Linked DNA regions of Homo sapiens: regions 2 and 3 are each linked to region 1. The links are contacts of gene promoters, found by promoter capture Hi-C in blood cells and fetal thymus (Javierre and others, 2016). All regions are on one chromosome and are shown on one strand. The core of a region is centred on a gene start or on the middle of the fragment in contact, and the rest is flanking DNA. Distances in the headings are between cores, read along the strand shown.

What was found. The method cuts DNA at HindIII sites, captures the fragments that hold promoters and counts their contacts. A CHiCAGO score of 5 or more calls a contact.
Region 2: a contact is called between a fragment that was not itself captured here and the fragment with the promoter of PLPPR5-AS1 in region 1, in 8 of 17 cell types (neutrophils, non-activated CD4 T cells, activated CD4 T cells and 5 more). The highest score is 8.9, in neutrophils.
Region 3: a fragment that was not itself captured here is called in contact with the fragment with the promoter of PLPPR5-AS1 in region 1 in 1 of 17 cell types (M2 macrophages); the score reaches 5.2 in M2 macrophages.

The regions. Positions count from the first base shown.
Region 1 is chr1:99,002,791-99,005,972 of GRCh38, reverse strand. PLPPR5-AS1 (PLPPR5 antisense RNA 1) reads right to left here and starts at 1,697. Exons shown (of 3, transcript NR_033940.1): 1 at 1,328-1,697. It overlaps PLPPR5 (phospholipid phosphatase related 5), which reads left to right and starts at 1,112. Exons shown (of 6, transcript NM_001037317.2): 1 at 1,112-1,538. The coding sequence starts at 1,302. RefSeq lists an enhancer at 1,280-2,254. The HindIII fragment of the contact is 4,191 bases long and covers 75-3,182 here.
Region 2 is chr1:98,812,299-98,815,480 of GRCh38, reverse strand. No RefSeq gene overlaps it. Among named protein-coding and RNA genes, the nearest start is that of SNX7, 150 kb to the right of the region's middle. The HindIII fragment of the contact is 2,295 bases long and covers 452-2,746 here.
Region 3 is chr1:98,828,457-98,831,638 of GRCh38, reverse strand. No RefSeq gene overlaps it. Among named protein-coding and RNA genes, the nearest start is that of SNX7, 170 kb to the right of the region's middle. The HindIII fragment of the contact is 2,461 bases long and covers 338-2,798 here.

The sequences.
Region 1 (3,182 bases), core at 448-2,947:
ACCTGCTCACTGGAGTAGAGGAGTGTCAGCCTGAGGCTCAAAGAAAGACCCCTTGAGAGTCTGCTGACTAAGCTTGCAGCAGGGACCCACATGGCATGACAGAACGGGCTCCTTGCACATATGCAGTTCCATAGTTAGTTACATACCCACGCATAGGCGTGGATAGCCATGGACGGATGAATTTTTGTATGCATGTGCTGTGAGCCAGCATTGGTCTCCCTCTCCTTTATCCCGACCCCTGAGGAATCCCTGCAGTTCCCTGGAATTCAGGGAATAAAGAACGAGATGAGGCAAATAGTCCTTTTTCCTACCCTGGTGGCTGGGACCGCTCAGTGCCTGGAATCTGCAATGCCTCCTCTCACAAGCAGCTAATAAAGACAGACTGAAAAGATGAGCAAGAGAATGCATGGATCCAGGAAGGGGCCGCTGTACAAGAGATGATGCTTCGGGAGCTACTGGGCTATGATTTCTATTATTATTTGTATATACATATATATATACACAAAGCCCTAGGAAGCTGCAGAGGAGGCAAAGAAACCTCGCTGAGATTTTTCTAACAGCGCCTAGAAACCACCGCCAGGCTCCAGCCCCGGGCTGGGTCAAGGAATTCGAGGGATGCAGGCTGAACGCACCGGTTGAAACTCTGGGCGCCGCATCGGCACTTTGCGCCTTGGTGGGCTTTGCGCTCGGAAGACGCGTCCACGCACCATTTTCCCAGGCGTTGTGCGGGTTTCTTAAACCTCTCAGCTGGTGCCTCGGAAGAGTTTCTGGAAGCTCCATCTCTACTGCCTCCCCTCCCCCCCTTTTGATTTTACCCCCGCCAGGAGCTTCTCCAGCCCCACAGCGTCCGCCCTGTGAGGGGTACAGGTGCCGCTGTCCCGCCGGCTGCCGCCCCGTCCGCCCACGCAGCGCCTCCTCCGGGCTAGCCTGGGGGATTGACCCAGCGCCGCTGCTTCTCGAATGGTCTCGTGCAGGGGCGCAGCGGCCGCTGCCCGTCGCCCGGGACTCCCCGCCCTCCCTCGCGACCCCGCGCCGGGGCGGGCGGCGCTTGCGGCGGGCAGGGGGCGGGCAGGGGAGAGGGGGCTCGTCCGGGGGTAGCCGCCTCCTCTGCAGCCTGCCGGCGCCTCGAAGCCCGGACCTGCCTCCGCCTCTTCCTCCAGCGGCTCCATCCCGCCTCCCGTGCCTCGTCCTCCCGCCGCCTCCGCCGCCGCGCCCCCGGTGGCTGCCTCGGCGGACCGGGGAGGGGGCCCACCGCGTCGACCGCCCGCTCGGCTCGGCTCGGCCCGGCCCGGGAGGCGTGCATGCCCCTGCTGCCCGCGGCGCTCACCAGCAGCATGCTCTATTTCCAGATGGTGATCATGGCAGGGACGGTGATGCTGGCGTACTACTTCGAGTATACGGACACGTTCACCGTGAACGTGCAGGGCTTCTTCTGCCACGACAGCGCCTACCGCAAACCCTACCCGGGCCCGGAGGACAGCAGCGCCGTGCCCCCCGTGCTCCTCTACTCGCTGGCCGCCGGGGTCCCCGTGCTCGTGGTAAGCCCGGGGGCGCTCGCCCTCGTCGCCGAGTCCCTGATCTCGCCCCTCGCCTTCGGGGTTGAGGCCCCTCTAAGGGTTGGGGCGCAGTAGGTTTTGCCTTCTAAGTTCCTCCAAGTTATGGGCAGCCCCTTCCCCAGAGGACATTCTAGGGCGCGTGAGGGTGGGTGCGAAGGAAGCCCCCAGCTCTTCCCACACGTCACCCCCCCACACCCCGCGGTGGCTTCAGCGTTGGGTGACTGGGCGGGGATGGAAGGGAAGAGGGGCCGTAGGTGGTGAGGAGTGGGGATCCGGGTTGCAAAGGAGGTGAGCTTTGGGGGTGAACCTTGATTCCATCCACTCTGTGGCCTTGACTCGCTCACTGCCTCCTCTTCGATTGTGCCTGGAAGAAGAGCAGCGGCGGGCGGGCCGGCGAGGAGAGAGGGGATCAATTGCTGGGGTGTGAAAGGGACTCCCACTTCCCGAGTCGGGGCACGTATTTCTATTTCGCCACCTCCCTCCTTTTCAGGTGAAAGTGCCAATGGGACTAAGCTGACCAGGGAACAAATATCTGAAAAAAGAATTTGAGAATTTCTAAATGAAGAGGCCTCAGCACCAGTGCTTTGCTGAAAAGCAGGAGCTGTACCTCAATTACAAGAGCACTTCAGATTTATTTAAAGGCTGCTCCGCTCCCTGGGCAATTTAAGTCCTTTTCTCTTAGAACCTCACAGAGCATGCCTTTTGGATTTATTGAGTGTATGTGTGTGTGAGAGAAAGAATGACTATACAGATACACTCACGTGTATACACACACCTCACATATATACATATGAAATTATTGGGGATAAATTACACATAATAATATTAATTTTATTATAGTAATTTACATATGTGAATATGCTACATATTTATTCTTAGGAGAATTGTTGGTGTTTCTTTAGAAAACCTGATATTTTATGGTTCCTTTAATATTGACAAAGTATTGGAGGTTCCCTTCCTGTGATGCGCGCTCTCTCTCTCCCTCAACAGATAACAAACGGGAAATAAGAAAATGAAGGGGAAAGGAAGAATGAAGTTTTATTTTCAGTAGCTAAATGTGTAAATTGAATGTTAAGAATGTCTGTTGAATCCATTAAGTTTGGATGTTCATCTTTTTTTTTAATTTTAGGAGCAATGACTTACTAATTTGTAAAATAATGAAAAGTTCCTAACACATAAGATAGAAATCAGTGAACAAATCAAGTAATTTCTTGATAACCTTAAAGTAACTTTATCACATGTCCTGTGATAGTTGACTTCAAATTGCCTCTGTCATAATGGTTTGAAATGTGTTAGACCTTGCCCCAGATAATGTTTTACATATATATATATATATATATATATATATATATATATATATGTAAAATAAGTTGCTAAAATGTGTTAGAAGCCCCAAATCCAGCCTTCATGTTTGTGTTCTCTTTTCTCCATTTGACAAGCTGGCAGAGAAAAAAAAAAAGGTCGATTTTTGGGGGCCCTTTTTACTTTCTGGAGATCGGGGTTTCCCATGTACAGTTTTCCAGGAGACTAAATAGCTCAGATATTTTTCAAGGATTGTTTTAAAGAAAAAGGAAGAGCCTGTCACTTTCAGCTCATTGGTTTGGTCATAGCTATAATCAATAATGT
Region 2 (3,182 bases), core at 350-2,849, 190 kb after region 1:
GAGAGTTTATCAACACCATTGCCCTCTGTAATGTGAAAAAAAAAATAGAATATGTACCTCATGTGCTTCTTGAATATAATGATATAGCTAAGGAGATTTCTAGCATAATATTACAATTGTCACCTGGCTTCCTTTCTAAGCCTTTGATAAAATATGAAAGGAATAAGTTGAGGAATAAGAAAAAAACTGTTAATAAATATCAAGGACTAAGGACGTGTTGGGCTTGAAAATAAGACTATTTTTCATTTCCAGTGTTTCCAGGTTGGAAATGATTTTCAAATTAAGAAAGGACCACACCAAAGGTCAAACTCTGGATGGGACTATAAGCTATTTTGTTAAAACTTCAGAAAGTTCTAATATAGTGCCTCATAAAAGCTTTCAGACAAACAAAAAGCACTTTCAAGTGCTTAAGAGAATGTCTTGCAGATTCTCTGCACCAAAATATGAAGCTTGTGTTTTGGTGGGTAGCTGCCCTGAGTGATTCCAAGATAGACAAGGGCCAGTCTTAAAGATACTTCTACTTGTGACTTTTTAAAATTGGGATGAACCGTAATAAGATTCATAAAACAGTCACAACATTTAAAAAAAATGTTTTGGCACAAGCACTGAGATCACACATGGAAAAGAGCAGAAACAGTACCAGATGAGAAGAAACCTTTGTACTCACAATATTCTACAGGCAGAGAGCAGGCTGAAAAGGCTCCTCAAATGAAACCAAAGACCTGTTCTTGTGGAAAAGGAGAAACTCAGAAGACACAACTGAGAAATATTGAGAACAACTCCCAAGGAATAGGACTGATCAAAGAATTGGCAAAATATGTCCCATTGCATATTAGAGCTGCTATGAACCAGTGAATACTGTCTATCATATCCCCCGGTTTTGAGTAGTTATCTTATTCCTGTCCCAGAATTATATGTTGGGGCAGTGAGGAGAAAGGTAGAGAACAGATAATTTGTCTCTTTTAGTTCAAAAGTGTTTAGACTGAGAGGAACTGAATTCCTTCCAGTACTGAAGAAGCTGTACTTGAGGAACTGCATTTAAGGAACATAGACCTGAGCTAAATAATGAAATACTGGGCTTTGAGCAGATGCTGTAATGAATTACAGTTTGGAAATCTTGGGGCAGGGGTGGATGCATTTTACCTCTAAGAGTAACGTGAATTGTTGTGACCAGAGCCTGGATTGTGGCAAACTATACTTGCAAAGATGCCCATCATCAGCATCTCTCATTATGTGATCTTACAATGTGATCTTGAGTCTCCTGTGATTTTGTGGTGGCATCTATGTCCCCTTCTAGTGAACATGGGTAGGGCTTTGTGACTGCCTCTACTCACTGAGTACTGTGGAAGTTACACCATGTGACTTCCAAATCTGGGTGACAAAAATCTTCATAAAGAAGAAATGTGTTAAGAAAAGTGGAAACAATCTTTATGAGTCATAGAAAAATGAAAAGCAGAGAATGAGTTTGGCAGTAGTTCTTCAACACTTGCTAAAGAAAACAGACATGAAATCTTACAAACACATTTCTTACTCACTAGAGAAGTGGAACCAGTTGTGCAGCAGGGAAGATGTGAAGAGCCTCACCATGGACGAGTAAAACCTATCTCAAACTTTCTGTTTCTCTTTCTCTGATTCTGTGCCTATCAATGAACATCCTAATAGCCAATTCAACAACCCCAGACTCTATAACTGGGTAGGAATTTACTTGGGTAGAAGAAGGATATCTTAATGGCTGGAAATGAAAATCCCTTATTGTGAACTGATGAAATAAAAATCAGTTTACTTAAATTTGGTTAGTATGAGTTAGTCTTTATGACCAATGAACTATGATCATGTCATTGTGTTACTGGGTCTACAAATGTGAGAAAGACAGCACAATGAGAAAAAAAAAAAACACTTGGGAAACCCAATTTAGAAGGCTCTTTGTTTTCCCTTTTCATCATATTATTTGAACACTATTCCATTTCTAAATTCCATGCAATGGATTTAGAAAAAAAATGTGATGTTAATAGAACAGGCTGAGTTGAGATGACAGGCAGGGTTAGATATAGGTCAATTTAAAAGACATTTGTGATATTAGAGATCTTAAATAGTGGATCAAATATTTTTTTCCAAAGGCTTTTGCAATAACAATAAGCATCTAAGTATGTAAATTGTATTTGTAATCTGAATAAATTCATCAACAAAAACCTGCCACAGATTTTTCACTCCAGCCTCCTTTTGGTTGGACATTTCCCACAGCTTTTTTGCAAGTAGAAATTGTCTATGAATATCTGTTTGGGAAAAAAAAACCCATATGATATGAAACCCCATTAGAAATTTTAAGATTTAGAGAATAGCACTTAGAGCTAATAAATATATTCTTATAATTTTTATTTTATCATTTTGTGATTGTATTCTCTCCTTTCTACCTTCCTTATATTTTTATATAGCCATACCTTAGAAAATGGCCATTAAATATCTTCGAAAACTTCCAAAATTCAAATCTCAGATACAGATAGGCAGTAAAGACATTTGAGAGAAGAAAGCCATGCATTTTCCATATCAGCAAATGAGAGATATATCTCTAGCATCATCTATACCTCCAACCTGTGCTTCATAGTGGACAACTTGTGCTCACAAAGCACACCATGCTGATTGCCTCCTCTGTGCTTGGGAATATCCTCCTACTTCACAGTCTACCTGATAAATGTCCGCAGCAGATGGCTTAGTATGACATGCACTACTTTTTAAAAGGAGATAAGCTTAAACATACTTTGTTTTCAATTTCTGTTTTCATATTTTGTTTTCAATTTCATATTTTTCAATGTTTTGTTATCATATTTTGTTTTCATTTTTTTAAGTTCTCATTTACAGGTTAACACCTGATTTTCTTTTCTTTATCCTCTAAAGTGACACAATCATAAACTTTAAGAAATATCTAAAGAATAACTATTCATATTTTAAGACTTTTTTAAAGTGCTACAAACTTTACAAAGATATCATGATGCCATGTTACAAATTTCAAGATGAAAACAATCTCATTTTTGCTGTACAAGTATTGTACCTACCATAACCTCTTAATCAGAGGATTTATAATATTTCATTAAGCTATTAATTCCCACTATAATTTGAATACTGAAAGATCCTTGAAGGTAGGTACCTACCTCTGTTCCCATGGCCCACAACATTGTTGACATCAT
Region 3 (3,182 bases), core at 319-2,818, 170 kb after region 1:
TAGGAGAAGGAGATTGGATTTGATCTATCAGGTTCCTTTCAGTTAAGAGAGTGTGATTCTACAATACACCAGTTGAATGTTGTAGCATTATATTCTTACTTGCCTCAGTTTAGTTGTTAAAACCGCTTTTAGAATTTTCTGACACACACCTGTAGAGTCTTTTTGTATCTGCATTAATTCAATCAACATTATGTACATATAATGTTGATTGAAATTATATATGTAATGTTGGTTGGATTTACAACATTGTGGAAGTTGTAGAGATTTTGCTTTTACATTTGGGTCCATGATACATCTTGAATTAATCTTGTGTATGGTGTGAGGTATGGGTAAAGCTTAATTTTTTTTAATTGTATATCTTCTTATTCTAGTAACATTTGTTGAAAAAAACTATCCATCCTCAATTGAATTACCTTGGCACCTATGTAAGTGGTTATATACATTTGGGTCTATTTCTGAAATCTCTATGTGTCACATTTATTATTTACCTGTTTATTTACTTGTTCAGTTAAATGTATGCTTATTTATTTGTTTATTTTATTTTAAATACCACAGTGTGTATATTACTAACTCTTTAAAGAAAGTCTTACTTAAGTATATATTTTCCAAATTCATTCTTGTGACAGATTTGGCTAATTTACTTTCTTTGTATTTTGATACAAACTTTAGTGTCAGACAATTTTTTCTAAAACAGAAATCCTGCAGATATTTTGATTTAGCACTGAATCTATAGATCAATATGAGAATAATTAACAACAATTGACAACAATATAAAATTTTTGAATCCATGAATATAATAGATATAGTATTCCATTTATTTAAATCTTTTTAAATTTCTATGGGTAATTTTCATTGTGGAAATATTGAAGATTTTTATTAAATGCATTCATAATACTTTATAATTTTGATAGTATTGAAAATAATATTGTTTCATTTTATTTTATATTCCACTTGTACTAAATATAGGAATTTAATTGTTTTTTATACTGACTCATGTTCTTCAACTTTGAAAGATTCACTTACTGTTTTGTAAATAGTTAATTTACTTTAAATGTAAGAAAAAACAATGTAAGAAATAATGTAAAAAATAAAAACATTTACGTAATGTAAGCAAAAAAGATAATAAAAACAATGTAAGAAAAAATAAAATTAGTCTTTGATATTTACCATTTTTAGTTCTCTACACTCATTCCTGTTGACCCATATTTCCATCTGGTGTCACTTGTTTCAGCCCAAAGAGTTTCCTTTAGCATTTGTTGTATTGCTTGTCTGCTGGTGACATATTCTTATAGCTTTGTTGTTTTCCCTTTAGTTTTGAAATACATTTTCACTGGATATAGAATTCTAAGTTGACAGGCTGTTTTTCCTGACATCTATTTAATGGTGTAGTCACATTGCCTCTGGCCTCTGTTGTTTCTGATGAGTCAGCAATTACTTATATTCTTTTTCTTTTGTGTGTAATATGTCTTTTTCCCTCTGGCTGCTTTTACAATTTTCTCTTTATGATTGCTTCTTAGAAGTTTGATGCTGAAGTGACTAAATATGGCTTTCTTTTCATTTTTATCTTTCTTGGGGTTTGCTTAGCTTCCTGGTTTTCTAGTTTGCTTTTTATAATCCAATTTGAATTTTTTTTGCCTAATATTTTCTGCTTCAACTGTTTTTCTGATACATCACTCTATCCATGTCTTCTGGACTACAAGTTCATTATATAGCTTGATGCTGTCCCACAGATTACTGAGGCTCCTTTCATTTTTCAATATTTTTGTTTTGACCTGAATAATTTCTATTGATCTATCTACAAATCCACTTATACATTTTTCTGTTTTTATCCAGTCCATTGTTAATTCCATCCAATGGATGTTTTATTTCAGATATTGCATTTTGCAGTTCTAAGAATTTCATTTGATTCCTTTTTGTAGCTCTGGATATCTCCTGAAATTTCTCAGGACTTCAATAATTATATTACTTTTTCATGTACAAAACGTACATGATAAGTACATGATAAGATATTTGCCATAGTTATTTTAAAGTTCTTGCTTACTTATCTGTTTTTTCCATCTTCACAATTTCTTTAAAATTTTAGACTACAAACTTTAGATAATAGTTGTGGAGCATGTCAATTCTGTTATATACCTCTGAAGAGTATTGATATTTGTCTGTAAATTATTACCTGATTACTTTGAACTAGTGAAGGCCATTCACTGTGTGCTTTGTTAGGAAGGAGCTATTTTAGTTTTGCCCTTAATCTTATCATTATTCCTTTAGTTCTGGTCATGTTCTTTTTCTAATCCCCATAGTCCCTCTGGACTTTCAATAAAAACACTGAAGTGTTTAACAAGCCTGTCAGAAATCCAAGCACAGCTTAACAGTTACAACTCACTCAAAATCTTTGATTAAGGTGGCTGTCAGCCAGGGCAGTGGTCTTATCTGAAGTTTCAGCTGGGTGGTTATATGAGAAGGTATAATCTATTTCATAACCATTACATGCTTACTGTCAGACCTTTTGTTCCCTTGTTGCATGGGCCTCTGAAAAGGGCCACATAACATGGCAGCTGGCTTTTCCTGGGGTAAGAAATCCAAGGGAGAGTGGGAGAGAAAGAACCCCAATTCAGAAGTCACAGTCTTTATTACTTGATTTTGGAAATGACATACCATCACTTCTGCTATATTCTTTCTTTACAACTGAGTAAATAAATCCAGGCCATACTTAATCAGAAGGCAATTATACAAGAGAGTGAATACAAGAGGTGGGACTTTTAGGGGTCATCTTAAAAGTTGCTTACCACACCATGTAAGCTTTTATAAGTAATAAAACATATAGTGACATATTGTCATTGTGTTAGTCCATTCTTGCATCACTATGAATAAATACTTGAAGCTGAGTAATTTATAAGAAAAAAAGGTTTATTTTGGCTCATGGTTGTGCAGGCTGTACAGGAAGCATGGTTCCAGCATCTGCATGTAGTGAAAGCCTCAGGAAGCTTACAATCATGGTGGAAAGAGAAGGGGAACCAGCATGTCCCATGACAAGAGAAGGAGCAAGAGAGAGAAGAGGATGAAGTTCTGAACTCTTTTAAATAACCAGATCTCACTTGAACTAACTGAGAAGTCACTTATTACCAAGGGGATAGTGCTAAACCATTCATGAGGGATTCATCCCATGATCCAACCACCTCCCATCA